Linked DNA regions of Homo sapiens: regions 2 and 3 are each linked to region 1. Evidence: promoter capture Hi-C in human tissues and cell types (Jung and others, 2019). All regions are on one chromosome and are shown on one strand. The core of a region is centred on a gene start or on the middle of the fragment in contact, and the rest is flanking DNA. Distances in the headings are between cores, read along the strand shown.

Region 1 (2,803 bases), core at 299-2,798:
GACGACATGTTCATGGAGCCCGCGCTCATGTTGCCCGAGCCGCTGCCCATGGCGGCCGCCGACATGCTCATGTACGTGTTCATGCCGTTCATCCCCAGGCCGGCGTTCATGTTGCTCACGGAGGAGTAGCCCTGCGGACAGAGCCCCGGGAGGGAGGCGACAGCGTTAGCACCGCGGCTGGAGGGTGCCCAGACCTCCCACCCACCGCCCAGGCCTCCGCGTCCGGGGAGGCCTCCGGGGAGCCCTTTCGTCCCCGATGGCCCAGTCTCCGGACTCCGAGTCTGTTTCATTCAGGGAGAGTCATGATCGATCGCCCTTGGGAAGGTGGCGAGCGGATTGCTGCTTGGGCATGTGGCCCGTTCCTAGCCCTTCTCCACCTCGCCCAGATTCTAGAACAGGGGTCCCATGGAGTACTCCCAAGCCAGCACCCCAAATACATTCCCCTACCCCAGAGTCTCCCCAAACTCTCCCACCAGCATACTGAGCTGGCGCCGAGGCCCGAAGTCCCCGGACGCCACCTCCGGTCGCAGCAAGCAACCTGCGGGACAACGCGCGGGGCGCCTCGGGCTGCCTCCAGCGAAGACTGTCCCGGGCCCCCTCTGTCCGGTCTCCCTCCAGGGACCCCCTCCCTTGTCCCAGGGAAACTGCAAGGCAGTGCCTGTGCGGAGTGCGGGGGCGGCTGGAGGCACTGAACGGGGCAATAGGGAAAGAACCGAGACCTGAACCACACGCGGCTGAGCTTTGCAGGCAAAAACTTTCTTTCTCTTTGTCCACTAGTCTTTGACTCTGCCTCCACTTCAGCCCCCAACTCCTACCCATCTTCTCCTCCTCAGCTCCCCACCCCCTCGCCGGCCGACCTCCCACCCCTCCCCAGCCGCGCGCTGCCAAACATAACTCTGTTAGGATAGTGCGTGGCTCGGCCACGAAGAGGATTTGGAGGCGCCGCAAGTCAATATTTGATCACAAAGTTAATATTATCTCAAGGCTAACAGTGTGTCGTATAAAAAAGAGACCCATTTGATTCCAAGGAGGGCGGAAAAGGCGGCTGCCCAGAAAGGCTGGGGTTGTGGGGCGGGGTGGGGGGGTGCCAGCGAGGGAAGCGGTCCTGAGGTTGGGGAAGGAGCGAGCGCCGCCGCTCCACTTCCCCCTGGAAAAGACGAGCGCTTACCTCGGGCTCTGCATAGTAGCTGCTCCAGTCGGACGGCTCGTGCCCTTCCATCTTCACCGCTCCCAGCATACTGGAAGCCGAGTGCATGGCAGTTTAAAATTTAACAGCCACAACAAACGACCAGCAATCACCCCCCACCCCCACCCTCTTTTAAAAAAAAGTCAGCCAAAGCACCGTCCCCTCCTCCCTCCCTCTCTCGCGCTCCCTCTCCCTGGGCTCCACTCCCTCTCTCTCCCTGGGCAGGCCGGAGGCGGTAGTTGGAAGTGGGCGGGAGGTGGGGGGGGGCGAGGAGCGGAGGAGGCCCAGGCCAGCGCCCCGCGGTAGGGAGCACCCGCCGCCGCCGCGCTCACGGGCTGCCGGGTGGCGGCTGAGGTTGGCAGTGCCGAGCTGCCCCGAGGCGGCGGGAAGCGCGCGGCGCGGGGGCTAGTGGGGGGGTGGGGAGGAGGAGGAGGAAGGAGGAGGAGGAGGCGGTGGTGGTGGTGGAGGAGGAGGAGGAGGAGGAGGAGGAGGAGGAGGAGGAGGAGGTGTGGACCGCGGAGCGGACAAGTGCCGCAGTGACGTGGGAGGCTGGTGATATAGCGCGGCGCGCTGGCGCGGGCCTCCAATCCCCAGACCCGGGGCAGCCCATTTGAATAATCAGCTCACACCTAGGTGAGAGGTAGCCGCAGCCGGCGCTCCGCACCTGCCCCTCAGCGCCTGCCGTCCGCCCCACCGCCGCGGCGCCCCGCACTCCTGGGCGGGCCAGGGGAGCGGGCTGGGCGGGCGATCGGGCACGCGGGATCCCTGGTCGAGCCCCCTTTCCTCCCGGGTCCACAGCGAGTCCCCTGAGGAAGGAGGGACCTGGGAGGAAACCACCCTCTGGGGCGGCTCCGGCCTCCAGCCCCCGCCCCGTCTCATCGCGCCGGGCGCCCGGTGCGCCTGTCGGAGGGCGCGTCCAGCCTCAGTGCCCGGCAGATCCCTATGAAAGCCGGATTTATTTATGCCGGGTTTCTTCGCTCTCAGTGCTCATTCTCTGTCAAAACAGCAAGTCCATGACAGCCAATTTGCAAAGCGCTGTCCTATTTAGAAAAACTACGTACACACCTTTAACTCGCCCGCTGCTGCTCCTGCGAGGCCCCTCCCTGTTACAGTTCAGACCCGGAACGGCCTCGGGAGAAGCGCGGGGCGCACGGTCTGGCCGCCTCGGCTCTCCGACTCCTCAGACACCGGCCGCCAGGGACCCGCAGTGGGGCGGCCGGCGCCTGGCGCAAGCAGCCCCTCTAGCAGCGGCCGACGGTTGGGAGGCTGAGATTTGTCTCTGATATTCAGGCCGGCGTGTTTCAAGGTTACTTTTCAGTCACAACCGAGGTGCCCACAGCATTTCGTAACTAAAACAAACAGGGCAGGAGGTGGGGAGGGAGGGGTGAGGAGAGAAGAATCCAGGAATCAATGATGGGGCATATGGAGTTGACTTCAAGAGCGTCTCTGTCCTCTCTGTCTTCCAGAGGGACTGCTTAATAGAAATTAGAAACTCCAGCAATCGTATACTTTTATTTCCCCAGCAGCTCTTGGGTTCAAAAATTGTCTTCTGTTCTGGGTTAGCCTGTGAGCCCAGATTTGGAGTGGGGGGATATTGCAGGTGTTTGGATGTGGAGG
Region 2 (2,700 bases), core at 91-2,590, 750 kb after region 1:
GGAGAATTTCTCTATCAAAGGCAATTTGTGGAACTCAGTCTGCTTTTGCATGGCTGCACCCTATTCTCAACAGTCCAGCACACACAAGTCAAGGATATAATAAAACTTCACCAAGTGTGATGGTTGTTTTGTGTGTCAACTTGACTGGGTCACAGGGTGCCCAGATAGCTGGTTAAACGTGGTTTCTTGTGTATCTGTGAAGCTGTTTCCAGAAGAGACCAGCATTTGAATTGGTGGACTGAGTAAAGCCGATGGCTCTCCCCCCCGTGTGGATGGGCATCATTCAATCTGTTGAGAGCCAGAATAAAACAAAAAGGCAGAGGAAGGGCAAACGCTTTCTCTTCTGAAACTGGGCCATCCATCTTCTCCCATCCTCAGACATTGAAGCTCTTGGTTCTCGGGTCTCCAGTCTCAGCCAGGTCTTAGCACATTGGCTTCTGAGTTCTTGGGTGGAAGAACTGCCTGACTGCTTGAGTTGGGACATGGATCTTCTGCCCTCTGCGCTTCTAGTCCTCAGGCTTTCAGACTGGACTGGAATCCACACCATTGGCTCTCCAGTTCTTGGGCCTTTGAACTACAGCACTAGGCTTCCTGAATCCCCAGCTTGCAGATGGCAAATTGTAGGACTTCTTGACCCCCATAATCATGTGAGCCAATGGCTTATAATAAATCTCCTTTTTCTAGATATATATCTGGAAATATATTTATTCATATAATTCTTACATTTATAATTTATATTCATATAATTTGTCACATTATTATTATATATTATATATAACAGCACACATTGAAGATATATAGATTTATATCTCCACTATCCTACTGATTCTGTTTCCCTGGAGAACCCTGACTACTGTACCAAGTGTAGTAGCATTCTGGGTAACCCACCATATCCCAGGATGATCACCCACATACATGCTACAACTGCCCCTTTCCTGGCCTTATTTTTTTCTCTCTTTTCTTCCTTTCTTCCTTATCGAATATTTATGACATAGGATTACTTATACTCAGAGATAGGGCCAAGCTTGTCTCCCACAAAGATGAAAGAGTTGTATAAACTCACCTCAAAGATGCTCCAGAAAGGAAATCAAAACAGTTTCAGAACTTGAATAGGAATCAGGAAAGAATCAGTGTTAAAGTATATTTCTCAAAATACAAATCACCTAGGGTGGGAGTGGGGGCTTGTGGAAGTTCACATTCCCAGGTCCTGCTCAGATGGACTGAATCAAAACACTAGAGATGGGTCTTGAGTTCAACATTTTGAGCAAACTTGCATTATTTGTTTGCTTGTGGTTGCACACAAGTTTGAGAACCAATGCCATAGATATTCAGGAACAAGGACATATGCAGGAGCTGCATTTTAGGAAGCTAAGTCCAGCAGTTTATGTAATATGCACTAAGGGGAGGGGGTGCTGGACACCTGGAGAAGATCAAAGAAGGATGGAGGCACTTGCAGTAATCCAAGTGTAAAGGCAGAGCCTCGAGTCAGGTCTTGTAGAAGCAGAGCCAGAGAGAGGGGTGTGGGTGCCCATGACTGGAGGGAGGACTCAGGAGGAAGAGACGGAGGGAAGCAGAACAAGTCAGGGAAGGAGTGAGATGGCCTCATATCCGCTGCAGTCACACCTCAGCCTGGCCCCGCTGGGGGCTCTGGAGCAGGGGCTGCACTGTGGCATTGATCCACCTTGACTCACAGGCACCATGTTTGTAATGTGGCTATTTCCAGCCAGCACACACAACAGCTGGGGGTGTGACCACTCAGTAAAATGAATTGGGCAGGGCACCTGCAGAGTTATAATACATCAACCCTGGAACAATACACACCCCTTCGAATTTACTGACAGGCCAATTTTCAAGCCAAAAATACAGTCCTCAAAAGGGTGTCAGTGGCTGGCCAAGGGAGGTATTAGTGGTGTTAGAAGGAGAAAAGGAATCAATCCCTAGAGAAGATGCTACTTCTTCAGGGTCTGATGATTTCATTTGCAAGGATTTTTATTGGTGTTTTTTCTAAGCAAAGTTTACTGGAAAATACTAAAAGAGACCCATGGCAGGGACTGGAAAGGGAAGAGGAAGAAGTGACTAAGCTGATGTTTTACGCATGACTGACTGGGACGATAACAGTATCAGAACAGAAAGGACCACATTCAAGTCTTCTTTTCTGTTTCTCAGATGTTCACTAGAGCCATATCTGACCAACCAAGTTCCTTCAGGAGGGACTCAATCCTGAGATCGTCAATTCATCTTTCTCTCACAATAGCTTCATTAAAAACCCCACAATTCAATGCTGACAAATCCCCATTACTTCTCATTATAAATCTTAAAACCATAAGAATTAGCGTCTTCCTTACTACATAAACTTCCAGACCTCAAATCTCACCTTTTTTGGGTAAGGGTAAGCTATTTGTTGACATTTGCACAAACTTTTGCCTGGCAGAAAATTTTTAAATAATTTCTAAAGAATCATTCAAATAAAATGCCAGACCCAGGAAGAAAGAACAATTTCACTCACCAACAACAATAATGTCTCCCTCAGCCATCTATCCACACACGTCCAGGCACATCCCTTTTTGGTTTGGAACTGGTCAGGTGTGCACTGTGAAGGCATGACAAGTTGCTTCAGGAAAAGAACGATCAGGTGCACAGGCTGAGGCAGGCAGACAGGCTCTTATCTCTATCCCCAGTAGATCCATCACAGGGCATAAG
Region 3 (2,810 bases), core at 14-2,513, 780 kb after region 1:
TTAACTCCCTTGATACTTAAAGAGATGGCTCCTAGGTCCTAGAAAAAGACATATCTAGGTTATAAAGCGCACAAAAAGGCCTAACTAGTCTTCAAAAGGATTTATATATTTCAAAGAGAGGAAAAAGTACTTACACTAATTACCAATTTTCTAAAAGTAAATGTTCGAAGAAAAAGGGAGGGAAATCTCATATTTTCAACAGGAAGTAGTAAACCTTATTTTAAATTTGTATTTGTCCTGACAGTCCCCAAACATTACAAACTCAACGTGTCGGTAAGACAAGGCTGAGTTAACTGCTGGCCACAGTAAGGGACAGCATGACCTGGCAAAGCTTTACCAATGGCTGGGAGCAAAAGGCAAGGTCAGTTTATTGAGAACTGGAAGTCTGACTCAAGGAAGGTGTTTCAAAGCGGGCTTTAGTTAGTATTGAGCAAGAATTGGTGGAAACAGCAAGATTTCGAGGAGTCAGCGAATCTTAGGGAATCAATTGTGCTTTCCCCGAAGAGTGGATGGGTCTCTGGGGAAGTTCTGTAGTGAACAAAGCTTTCGCCCGAATGGGAACTCCTGGAAATAAAGCCCTGCAGTAAAGACGGCAGGGTGCGGTCCCGGCTCCTGGCGCGCCGAGCCCCCCAGCAGGGCGGGGGCACCGCGGAAGAAGCGCCCCAGAGGAGAGCGCCGCGCCGAGCCCCGCCTGGCGCCAGTTCTCCAGCGCCCGTGGAGGCATCTGCGCCCCTAGTAGCCAAGGTGAGTACCAGCTCCAAGCCCGGCTTTCCGCGAGGTCCCTCGCGTGGCCACCGTGCCCTAAGGGTGCGCTCGGCCTCGGGGACGTGAGCAGCTCTTAGTGGGAAGCCAGCTGCAGGCCCTGACCGCAGGCTGCTGGGGCCCGGAAGCGCTGGCGCCTTGCGGCCAGAAGCCCGGAATGGACGCGAAAGTGACCACGCGAATCTGACGCTCACGTGACTTTTCGCGACTGGCCCCGCCCCCCTGTGGCGTGCCGCAGCGCAGACGTCGCTGTCTCCTGCGCAGGCGCAGGCCTTGGCTCGCGGCGGGTGACGCAATGCGGCGGGTGACGCAATCCGGCGTCGCCAGTCAGTCGCGCGGCCAGATCAGGTAACTGCCCGAACCGCTCCGCCGCCCGACGTGTGGCTCAGCCCCTTCCTCAGCCCCGCCAGGGGCGGGGCCGGCCGCGGGAGGGGAGGGGCCTGCAGCGACCAATCGGCGGTGCCCGCGCAGGGTGCTACGCCACGCCCAGCCGGGCCGGCCGTTCCTACCGGCCTGGTCCAGCGGACAGCGGCTGCAGCGGGGGCGCCGGCTGGGAGGTGAGTGCGCGGCCCGTAGGCCTGGCTCCGGCCCCTCGCCGCCCGCCGCCGCCTCTTTGTCCGCGCGCCCCGGCTGCTCTGTGGACCTGCGCGTCTCGGGGATGCGGGAGCGGGGGCAGGGGGCGGCCCGAGGGCCTGATCCACGCGGCCCCGGATGCCCGCGTCGGGAGGCGGCGCGTCGGGCCGAGGAGGGGCTTCTCTGTGGCTGCAGTAGTTTGTTCTCTGGGTCGTCTTTGGAGTGGCCGAGCGGCGTCCGGGCGCTGGGGCGGCCAAGTGGCGCGGGAAGGGTGGGAGGTGCCGTGAGGGCGGCGAGGACAGCGGCGGATTTAAGCCCCACTGGAAACCCCGGCCCTTGTGGCCGTGGACTGGGCTGCGGGTAGCAGCGTCTCCTGGAAGGGCTCTGGCCCCGTGAGCCTCGGGGATTCAGGGGCCGCCGACGTTGGTGCAGATGCCGGGCGCACTGGGAGGCGGCCGGAATGCCAATGAGATTCGGCGGATACGCAGCTGTCACCGGCCGCAGACTGCCCTGTCGCCACCTCCAGTGCCTGCACTCCAGTAGCCAAGCAACATAGGAAATCGCGCTCAGAACCCACTTTGTTGATTGAGAAATCAGGTCTCCTCGAGGGCCCTGTTGGCAGAGGTCTGGGGAAGTCAGGGCATCAGGCTGAGAGAGCCCTCTGCAGTCTTGTTTCCCCAGGCTGGGGCTGGGACCACTGAAACCCCAGTGGCTCTATAAGAGCCCCACTCTTATAGATCCCTTCCTTAGGCTTTGTCAGTGTTCTCACAGTTTTACTGGGGCGTCTCCTTCAGGCGACATTGATCAAGCCTCATAGGTACCTGTTTACAGCGGAACTCCCAGAGGGCAGTCTTTTCCATGTTTGAGGGACTGCTAGTTGTGGGGAGCGGTCTCATTGATGAGACTGGAGAAGGGGAGAGGGGTGGGACTAGTTTATCAGGGAAGATGATGACAACTTTTTTTCTAGACACGTTGAATCCGAGGTGACATCTGTGGTCTGGCCGAAGGAGGCTAGAAGGAAGGCATGTGCTTTGGATGGATGGAAACAGGAATCAAAGAGGAAGGTAGATTCAGGAGCTGAAGGGCAGGGAGAAAACACATTCAGGGAGTTTGTGGCAAAGCAGCAGAAATGACGATGGGGTGACGGTATCTGGAGGCCTTAGGTGGGGTTGGTGAAATTTGCATGCCCGCTGCAGTGGAAAGATTTAGGGGCTAAAGATAGCCCTTTGCCTTTGGCAAGGCTGAGGGGAAGAGTGTGTTGAGTAGTCTGAGTTGAATCCGGGCACCAGGCCCTGGCTCATGTCCCAACCAGCCATTGACTGTTACCTTGATAGGTCCTCATCTATGAAATGGGGATCACTGTAGCACCTTGGCCTATGTGTGGGAAACCAATAAACTAGCCAACAAGTTTCAGGCTCATGGAACCCTGGTAACAGCCGGTCAGCCTTCTTCAGAGGAGGAAATGGGTTCAGAGA

The links. Contacts are between HindIII fragments. The study calls those that stand out against the background at their distance.
Region 2: a contact is called between a fragment that was not itself captured here and the fragment with the promoter of FOXA2 in region 1, in 1 of the 25 tissues and cell types used here (lymphoblastoid cells).
Region 3: the fragment with the promoter of GZF1 here is called in contact with the fragment with the promoter of FOXA2 in region 1 in 1 of the 25 tissues and cell types used here (liver).

The regions. Positions count from the first base shown.
Region 1 is chr20:22,583,024-22,585,826 of GRCh38, forward strand. FOXA2 (forkhead box A2) reads right to left here and starts at 1,549. Exons shown (of 2, transcript NM_021784.5): 1 at 1,169-1,549; 2 at 1-131. The coding sequence starts at 1,255. RefSeq lists enhancers at 1-154, 1,579-2,334. The HindIII fragment of the contact is 10,630 bases long and covers 1-2,803 here.
Region 2 is chr20:23,330,061-23,332,760 of GRCh38, forward strand. All of the region lies in intron 1 of NXT1-AS1 (NXT1 antisense RNA 1), which reads right to left. LOC105372571 (a long non-coding RNA gene) reads right to left here. Exons shown (of 3, transcript XR_937379.3): 1 at 2,507-2,700. Among named protein-coding and RNA genes, the nearest start is that of NXT1, 19 kb to the right of the region's middle. The HindIII fragment of the contact is 6,519 bases long and covers 1-2,700 here.
Region 3 is chr20:23,360,919-23,363,728 of GRCh38, forward strand. It overlaps GZF1 (GDNF inducible zinc finger protein 1), which reads left to right and starts at 1,264. Exons shown (of 6, transcript NM_022482.5): 1 at 1,264-1,319. RefSeq lists silencers at 550-639, 1,060-1,549 and enhancers at 730-989, 2,804-2,810. The HindIII fragment of the contact is 9,373 bases long and covers 1-2,810 here.